2 separate regions of the Homo sapiens genome follow, and region 1 is linked to region 2. Evidence: promoter capture Hi-C in human tissues and cell types (Jung and others, 2019). All regions are on one chromosome and are shown on one strand. Each heading gives the region's core, a stretch centred on a gene start or on the middle of the fragment in contact. The rest is flanking DNA. Distances are from core to core; before and after follow the strand shown. Region 1 overlaps RNF180 (ring finger protein 180). Region 2 holds the start of RNF180 (ring finger protein 180).

What was found. The method cuts DNA at HindIII sites, captures the fragments that hold promoters and counts their contacts. A contact is called where the count stands out against the background at its distance.
Region 1: a fragment that was not itself captured here is called in contact with the fragment with the promoter of RNF180 in region 2 in 3 of the 25 tissues and cell types used here (heart right ventricle, hippocampus and thymus).

Annotation. Positions count from the first base shown.
Region 1 is chr5:64,205,197-64,209,441 of GRCh38, forward strand. The region is part of intron 2 of RNF180 (ring finger protein 180); the gene reads left to right. Among named protein-coding and RNA genes, the nearest start is that of RNF180, 41 kb to the left of the region's middle. The HindIII fragment of the contact is 5,932 bases long and covers 1-4,245 here.
Region 2 is chr5:64,163,624-64,168,262 of GRCh38, forward strand. It overlaps RNF180 (ring finger protein 180), which reads left to right and starts at 2,220. Exons shown (of 8, transcript NM_001113561.2): 1 at 2,220-2,330. The HindIII fragment of the contact is 11,374 bases long and covers 1-4,639 here.

The sequences.
Region 1 (4,245 bases), core at 828-3,327, 41 kb after region 2:
GTGTGGGTGTATCAGGTTTGTCAAAGTTAGCTTGGTGTGGAATTTGAATTGTAAGGGAAACTGGGATATTTGAGCTTTAGTTATCCAGCCACTGGCATGCTGTAAGACATGAGAAAGGCAATTTAGAATGGAGTTTTCAGACAATCTACAACGTCCACAAGGAGAAAGGGGGACTTCGACCTTGCATCCAGACCTGAGATAGATGAAATGTGGGCAAAAACCAAAAACAAAATAACAGCAACAAAGACCCTAAAGATGTAGAAATAAAATAACAGAAATGGTCTCCATTTGTGCAATCTGTGTTAGGGAGTGGCGTCCTTAGTTTTAGTTAGTTTTGTTATGGTTTTGGACATGTGAAGTTTATGTGGCCTGTAGAATATTCAAATATTTTAGGAGGCTGCTCGGTTCTATGGATGTGGGATTCAGAAGAGAGATCTGAACTAAAACTGTGGATCATCAGCATATAAGTTTTAGGTGAAGCTGTGAGAGTAGATGAGATTACCATGCAGTGTATGAATGGAGTGAGAGTTAAGTAGTTCCTATCATACAGGAACATTTATAGGATAGACAGAAAAAGAGAAGCTCTCACAAAGGAGAAAAAAAAAGAGTGAAAAAAATAGAACCGAAAATAGGAGAGAGCAGTAGTTACTATCATATAGGAACACTTACAGGATAGACAGAAAAAGAGAAGCTCCACAAAGGAGAAGAAAAAGAGTGAAAAAATAGAACCGAAAATTAGGATACAATATTATGGAAGTCAAGGGACGAACATTCTCTAGGAAAAAAAAAGTGTTGATGATTCGTGTTAAATGTTAAATGAGATCTAGAAGATCAGACATTTCCTTCAGTGTGCAGATTGTATACTGCACAATTCTAGAGGGAGCTAGTTTGTGAAAGGTTTGCCCTGGATTTGTGCAGTTAGCATACAAACTATATATCCATATGTAAAGACCCTAAATGAGAGTTAAAAGTGTCCATTGGTTTTAAAAGAAATCGTTGGTCAACATTCATTGTAGTTATGAGACTTTTAGGGGCAGTTACCAAATTCTACTGGGTTCAGATAATTGGGAGCTGAGGGATGGTCAAACACTTACAATAAAACACTTTAATTATTAGGTTATGACTTCTTCCATCACCAGGCTATGAAGTATTTCATCTGTATAACACCATTGCCAATGCAGTGGCTGACATGAATAGGACTGATGAATGTTGAATTGATTATTAGAGTATATACCTCCTCCCTCATGTTTTTTGGTTAGATAATTTGCTTATTTTCTCTCTGGCTTTATTATTCTGGTGGTATTTTTCCTTCAATGGCTGTAATACTGAAATAAATATTTTTATGCTTATTACATTTTTAATACTTTGTGTTCGCTCTTCTTAGTGATACCGTATATTTGTTCCATACTAGTCTTAGCACATGCTATGCTATGGACTGAATTGTATGCCCTCCAAGTGCATATTTTAAAGGTGCAGTGTGACTATATCTGGAGATAGGGTCTTTAGGAGTTAATGAAGGTTAAATGAGAGCATAAAGATGGGGCCTTAATCCAATAGGACTGTGGCTCTATAAAAGGAAGAAAAGAGAAAGAGATCCTGTGAGGACACAGTGAGTAAGCAGCCACCTGCAGGCTAGAAAGAGAGCCCTCGCCAGAGCCAGAACATGCTGGCACCCTGATCTCAAACCTTCAGCCTCTAGAACTGAGAGAAAATAAGTTGCTATTGTTTAAGTCATTCAGTCTCTGGTATTTTGTGATGGCATCCCAAGCAGACTAAGACCACACACGTCCTGTAATAGGAACTGGAAACTCAAAGATGAGCAGAAGAGAAATGGTATGTCCTTATGAAGTTTTCAGGATTTATCATTTAATCTTCTATTAATATTATAACAATTATAAATGTATTCTAATTATATTATAATCATATTAAAAGTTTGATATTTATAACTTAATAGTGAAATAATTTAATATTTATAATATTGACCAGTTATGTAAATATTAAATATTGATTACTCATATAGATATAAATTATTAGCTGTTTAAGTGGCAAAAAGGAAAAGTATAGGAAGCCATAAGAGTAGGATATAGATAGAATGCTGGACCTAGCTGTAAGGCTTTTCTGAGGAAGTGACCTGTGTAGAGATATGATGGATAAGTGAGGACAGTACAGGTGGGAGAACATTCCAAGATTCAGGACCAGCGTGTTCAAAGGCCCTGTGGTGGATCTCCGGAACTAAAATAGATTGCCACTATTGGAGTTCAGAGATGAAGAGGGAGTTTGGCAAGATCTGAGAGTAGAAAGTTGGGTGTTGTTCAAATCATGTATGGTCTTGTAAGTCAAAGACTTTGATCTTTATCGTAGGAGCTGGCAAGTCAGTGGGAGGAAGTAACATGACTTTTGAATTTTAAGATTATTTTGGTAATAGTGTGAAGAGTGAATTAGAAAGGTACCAAGAATTGAGGCAGGGAGCCTGTTTGTTTTTTAAGTGAGGCTTTCATTTTTTTCAATTCATTGTGACCTTTTGATTATAAAAAGTTTTTACCCTTAAAGTACCTTCTCAAAGTACAAATAGACAAACTAGGCAGTCCAATAGAATTGTGGTTCCTTTACATTTGTGACACTTTAGACAATTAATAATGTTAATTTAAATGACATTTTTGTTACATAGTCTTTTCCCTGTGGTGTTAGCTGCGGTAGTCAAATAATATAGTTGGCTCACATTTAAAGAATTAGCTGAAGGAATGTTATTGCTTACTTTGGAAATGCAAAGGGTTAAACATCTTCCAAAATATTATGTAATAATATTATCAACTTTTTACATGTAACTTGTTACACTTAATTAAAAATATTAAAGATCACATAATGATAAAAAATAAGGCATCAAATTTGTAATTTTAAAATTAAGTGATATTTTTCTGTTATAGAAACTGAGAATATTCCCAACACTTAAAGAAAAAATTAAAATAATACATTGGCTCCCTCTGCTGCTTGAACAAATTATTTCATTTACAAACATAATGTTGTCAACATTTTTCTGACATTATTACATGAAATTGCTATTACTTTCTCCTCCTTTTCCTTCCTCCTTCCTCCGTGTGGGAGATTTGAGACAGAAAGAAAATCTGTTTAGTAATTTTTTTACAATCCTGGTAAAACAGTTCTAATTTTCAGTCAAATTTTTCCCGAGGAGATAACTTGTTGTGCTAATACTTTGATGGCTTTAAATTCCTAAAATTGGGTTGCCTCCAGTTTCATCACTCATCTTAAAATATGTCCATCAAAACTTGTTTTATCATTTATATATTTGTGTGATTTTAAAAAATTAACTGACTTAAAACTTAATAGTTGATACATCCTCTTTACTTGTAGAATTATATTGGAAATAAATATTACAAATAAAAATGTATTTTTTCTAAGACTGTGTTGGTAAATACAGGTGAAAGTAGTTGGCAGTTTCATTTATAGTTGAGGTGTCTGTGTTTACCCTGGTCCATGTGTAAAGTTTTCAGAAAACGAAACAATGCTATAAATTCAACCCAGCTTTTTATGCTTTCCTACCTGTATGAATTGCTATTCCTCTCTTTTTGGTTGTGAGGAGATGAAGGTATACTTTAAATTTTAGCTATTTAAAAGAAAAAAATATATGCTGTTTTATATTATTTTTTCTCAAATGAAGGAGGTTGGGTTGAGGGGTACAAAAGGAGAATCAGCTGTGGAATTTTTTCTAAACATACCTCTCCCTACATAAATTTATTTTAGTTAATTTAAAAATAAGATATGCTTCAGTTTTAGTTTTATAAGCGTTAGAGAAGAATAGCAGTATCATACCTTAAAGCATACACAGGCTAGAGATATAAGAAAGTTTATTGCCCTAAAAACTATAGTATTTTATATGGCATAAGAGGCAATGTGGAAGCTTGGGATCGCTTGTTTCAGTGTTCTTATCTGTAAGACAGTAAAAACTCTTAAAACGGTGCCTGTGCATAGTGAGCACAATATAAATATTTGTTATTTAGTGAAAATAAAAAGAATAAGTACATTGTAAAACTTTCTTCTACCTACAACTGTGACTCCAGTGTTTATTCTCATAGGAGTATTCATAAAGCATTTCCAAAATTTATAGTGGGTAGTGGTTTTTTCGTGTTATGATCAATGCTATGTGATTAAAAAATGATCAATTTATATGATTAAATGAAATAATGAAATGTACATAGTAAAATAAGAAGTAGGACAGTGAAATATTAA
Region 2 (4,639 bases), core at 970-3,469:
CCTGTTTGTAATAAATCTTGTACCTCCAAAAGTTTATTTCTTTAAAAAGGAAGCACTGCAAATTCAGCCAGGAGGCCAATCTTTTCCTCTAGAAGTTACCCACATTCTCCCTCTTGGGTGTTTCCAGGGTGGTTCCCTCCCGGAAAGGAAGGTCAAGTCTCTCTCAGGCTTCAAAGCTCTCTGACATTTCTTGCCATCTCATCTTTCTGATTCTAGGTGGAGAAAGTTTTCTGCTTTTAAAGATTCATGTGATTAGGCTGGGCCTACGTAGGTAATCCGAAATAGTCTCCCTATTTGGGTCAGTCACTTTTATGACATCAGTAAAGTCCCTTTTCTATATACTGTAACATCTTTGCAGGATCCAGAGATTAGAATGTGGACATTTTGGGGGAGCCATTCTGCCTACCACAGTTGTTGCGGGTGTCACCTTCACTTCTCTTTTCTATCAGATTCTCTGTCTAACCACTTTGTTATAGAATACATCCTCCAATTGCTTCCTGAGAAAGAATGCATGAAAATACTATTTAAACCTTTGTATATTTGAAAATGTCTTTTTAAACCTCATACTTCATCAATTTCAAAATTGGAAATCATTTTTTTCTCAGAATTTATCTTTTATTTATGTTTCTGTTGAGAATCCAATGCCATTCTGATTTCTAAATCTTCATAAATCACCTCCTATTTTTTCCTCCATGAAAGTTAAGATCTCTCTGACTCATGTGGTTTGAAATTTCACAACTTGGTTATAGAAAATTTTTATCCATTAAACTGAGAGCTCATGTGCTTCTGTCCTTTAGCTCTGAGAACTGTTGTCCTCGTTTTCTTTGGTAATTATCTTTCTTCTCTTTGTTCTACTAGCTGTTAGATATTCCACCTTTCCTTGCCTAACTGCCCTGGCTAGTGCCTCCACTATAATGTTGAATAGAAGTAGCAACAATTGACATCCTTGTCTTATTCCTGATTTTAGGTGAAAATGTTCATTCTTTCAAGATTAAGTATGATGTTAATTATGGATTTTTCAGAGGCTCTTTATTAGGTTGAAGAAGTTTCCTTTTATTCCTAGTTGAAGTGTTTATATCAAGAAAGGGTGTTAGATTTTGTCAATTGCTTTTCCTTCATCTTTTGAGATGATCATGTGGTTTTTACATTTAGTCTATTTAAAGTAGTGTGTTACATTAATTTTGTATGTCACACCAAACTTGCATTCCTGAGATAAATCCTACTTGGTCATGTTGTATAATTTTTTAAAATGTTGCTGGGTTTGGCTTGCTAGTATTTTGTTGAGGATTTTTATGTTACTATGCATAAGGTATATTGGTCTGTAGTTTTCTCGTGATGTCTTTCATTTTGTTCTTTATTTCCTTGTATTTCCAGATGGGAAGTCACTGCATACAGCCCTAATCTTAGGACAAGTTTCCAAGTAAGCCACTTCAGGCAAATAAAAATTTCTGTATCTAGCAGAGAAACAAAGCTGTATATTTTTTTTGAGGTTCCCTCCTAGCTCCCTTCCCTCTCCTCAAGCCAACTAATAAAACTTGCTTTTTATATTCCGAATCTTATTTATAGTCGTTTGATCATCTATGAGGCACCTGCAAGTCAACATTTACTGCACGCGGCCCCCTCACTCCCTAAATAAGCACTTTTGATTTACCGCCAGTCATCAACTCACCTCCCAACTGCAATTTGTCAAGAGTAGTGTCAGGTGCACTTTAGTGGTTAATCTCCTTGCACATCGGTGGAACTTTAGGCACAAGAAGGTAAGCAACGAAGATAGTGATATACGAAGGGAAAACTAAACCCAGGTAGCGTTGCCAGCTTAAAAGTCCTAGGCATGGGGATGGGTGGATGGGACGCCGGCCTAAGATTTTAGCAGGGAACAGACCCAGTAGTTGGCTTGGATCTCTTAACTCCAGAAAAGGCCGAGTGAGGACAAGGGAGACCACAGGGATAATTTCTGTGGCTCTGGTAAGGGGATGACAAGGGAGAAAAACTTTCCCACGGTTCCGTCTGGCCCGCGGCGCTTGTCTGCCTGCGCGGGGTCAAAGCCCGGCGCCGCCCACGCGCGGCTCGGGTGGGAACCCGCAGACGTGGGGCGAGCAGGGCCGCTGGCTGTGGCGGGCGAGCGCCGGGGCGCCACGTCCGAGGCCGCGGGGTCGGGGCTGCAGGCACAGCTCGAGCGCTTTCCGCGGGGTTTGGCTCCTGTCGCTTCCCGTCTCGCCGAACCGGCATCGCCGCCGCCGGAGCCGCAGCGAGTCCTCAGAGCCTGGCTGCTGGCGGCCGGGAGCGCCGGGACGGGGCGCGAAGCCGGAGGCTCCGGGACGTGGATACAGGTAAAGGCCGGCGGGTCGGAGTCGGGCGGGGCGCGGCGGCGGCGCCTCTCGGAGGGACCTGGCCTCGGCCGGGCCCTACCCAGCCGCGGTGGCCCGGGCCCCCACGTTGGCCCAGGCGGGGACGTGCCAAGGGGCTGGGCTAGGGTTGCCGCTGGCCTGGCCGCCTCTCGCCCGGCGGGCCTCAGGTGACGCGGCCGCGGCTTAACTTTCGCACCTGAGGCTCTCGGAGCGGCCTCGGGGCGCGCCCACCTGGAGGTTGGAATTACACAGGGTCGAAAAAGCTGAGTCCTGGAGGCGAGGCGCTGTAGGTGTGGCGGAGGAGGCCGGGGAAGGTGGGGTGGGTGCCAGGGGTCCAGTACTGAACCCTCTCCAGGTCTGAGGTGGGGAACTGCGTCTTGTTTAATTTCGGAGCTTGTGGGGACCACACAGCCCCTTCCACGGCCGATTCCCTCTGCACGGTTCCACTTTCCTTTGTCTAGCCCATTTCAGTATCGGCGTCGCAGTCGCTTTTGTTGCAGCCTTGGGTCCGGAGTGTACGACTTTCTGCTAGGCAGAGGTCATAAGCTCTGAAATCCATCGGGCGGAGGTGGGGAGATGGTCCTTTGGTGGGAAATTACTAGTGCTGTTATGAACACTAACACATATATTCCACCTTGTTTTTTTTCGAGATAGTGCTCATTATTTTCGTAGCATCTAACAGTTGTAAGTGTATCTGTGAGAGCATTCATTAGTTAACTTCAAAGGAGCATTATGCGGTCGGGTTACTATTATCCCATTTTATAGACCAGACAGCTGAGGCACCCAAGAGGCAAAGTGATTATATCAAAACTAAGCAGTCAATCCTTGTGGAATCTGTGATTAGAACTTGTCTGACTAGAGTTGTCCTTGGTCCAGTTGGTCTCTTAGTCTCAAACAAAATTTAGCTCTCAAAGATGGACGGTCTGATGCTCATTGTATTTTTATATACTCATTAATTGTTAAAACCTTTCTTAAAAAATAGAGTCAATTCCTTTCAGACTCCTGTTATAGTACCCCTAAAAGTGATACTTGAAAGATCATAAACACTTCAGTTTCAAATGAGTGGTATCATTTGAGTCGTAGAAAGAAGTAAAATTCCGTTGTCTTTTATCTGTCAGACTTTCGTCTCTTGTATAAATGTAGTGCCACTGGCAGCCCAAAGATACTTTGGTGACAATGGCAGAAACTCTAAATATTTATTTAATAAGTAGAATCGAGGAGGCGAGCTGTTAGGTTTCCCGGAATATTTGAGTAAGTTTTTTCTCATAAAGAATCAAAAATTTAGGAGAATAGTCATTTTAATTATTGTAATGAAAAATTATCTCGTAATTGTGTACGTGTTATGTTGTACTTTATCTCTCTGGAACCATCAACAATTTACCAGTTTCCCTAGGGTTTGCTCTTAGTTTTGTCAATGGTATTTTATTACCCCATTTTTCTTCCTCTCTTTCATTTTTTGTGTGTTTGGTTTTTCAAAGTGAAGATTTTTTCTTCGAAAATTCAAAAAATAATATTGAAAAAATCAACAAGATTTCTTTCTTGATAAAATAGACTTAATTAGCACTTTTTTGAGTGTGTCTGAGGACCGACACCAGCCTCTTTAATAAGCACCTCATACATGAAGCAGGAATTCTTCCAGGCAAGAATGCAATAAATTAATCATTTTAATATATTTCTGTAATATGACATAGCTACCTGAATGATAATGCTTTTTACTCTTACAATGTCTTTTTCATTAAGGAGCATAAAGATTAAAAATTTCGCTTAAATTTTGCTAACTACATAGTACAAGGGGACAGTGTGCTTAGACTTAATTGTTGCTTTCATGGAATAAACACAGTTCTCTCTCCCTTATACCACCTCCATTTGGCCATCTGAAAAAAGAATGGTGATGTGTCCTTTCCTTCATAGGGATATTTGGGGAATTAATGAAGTAATATCTCGAAAGTAGTTTGAACTCCACGGAAGAAAGCAGCTTTGTAACTTTGAAATGTGATTGCAGAGTCTTGAAACATTTTCCCTCCTTAAACGTGCTGTCGTTTATATTTTTAGAGAGTGGTCATTCCAAGTAGTCACCTCAGGAGGCTAAAAACTTATTCCAGTAGTGCTGCTGCCATTCATAATTATTTTGTATTTTTTGAAATTTCTAGTCAATTTACAAGCAAAATAAAAACATTTCATGATAACATTCATAAACACTTGTTTTTGTTTCTATTTTTTAATCAAAAAACTAATTCAGCTTGAGTACCTATTTTCTTTGCTAAATTTGGCAGAATGATTTCTACATGGTT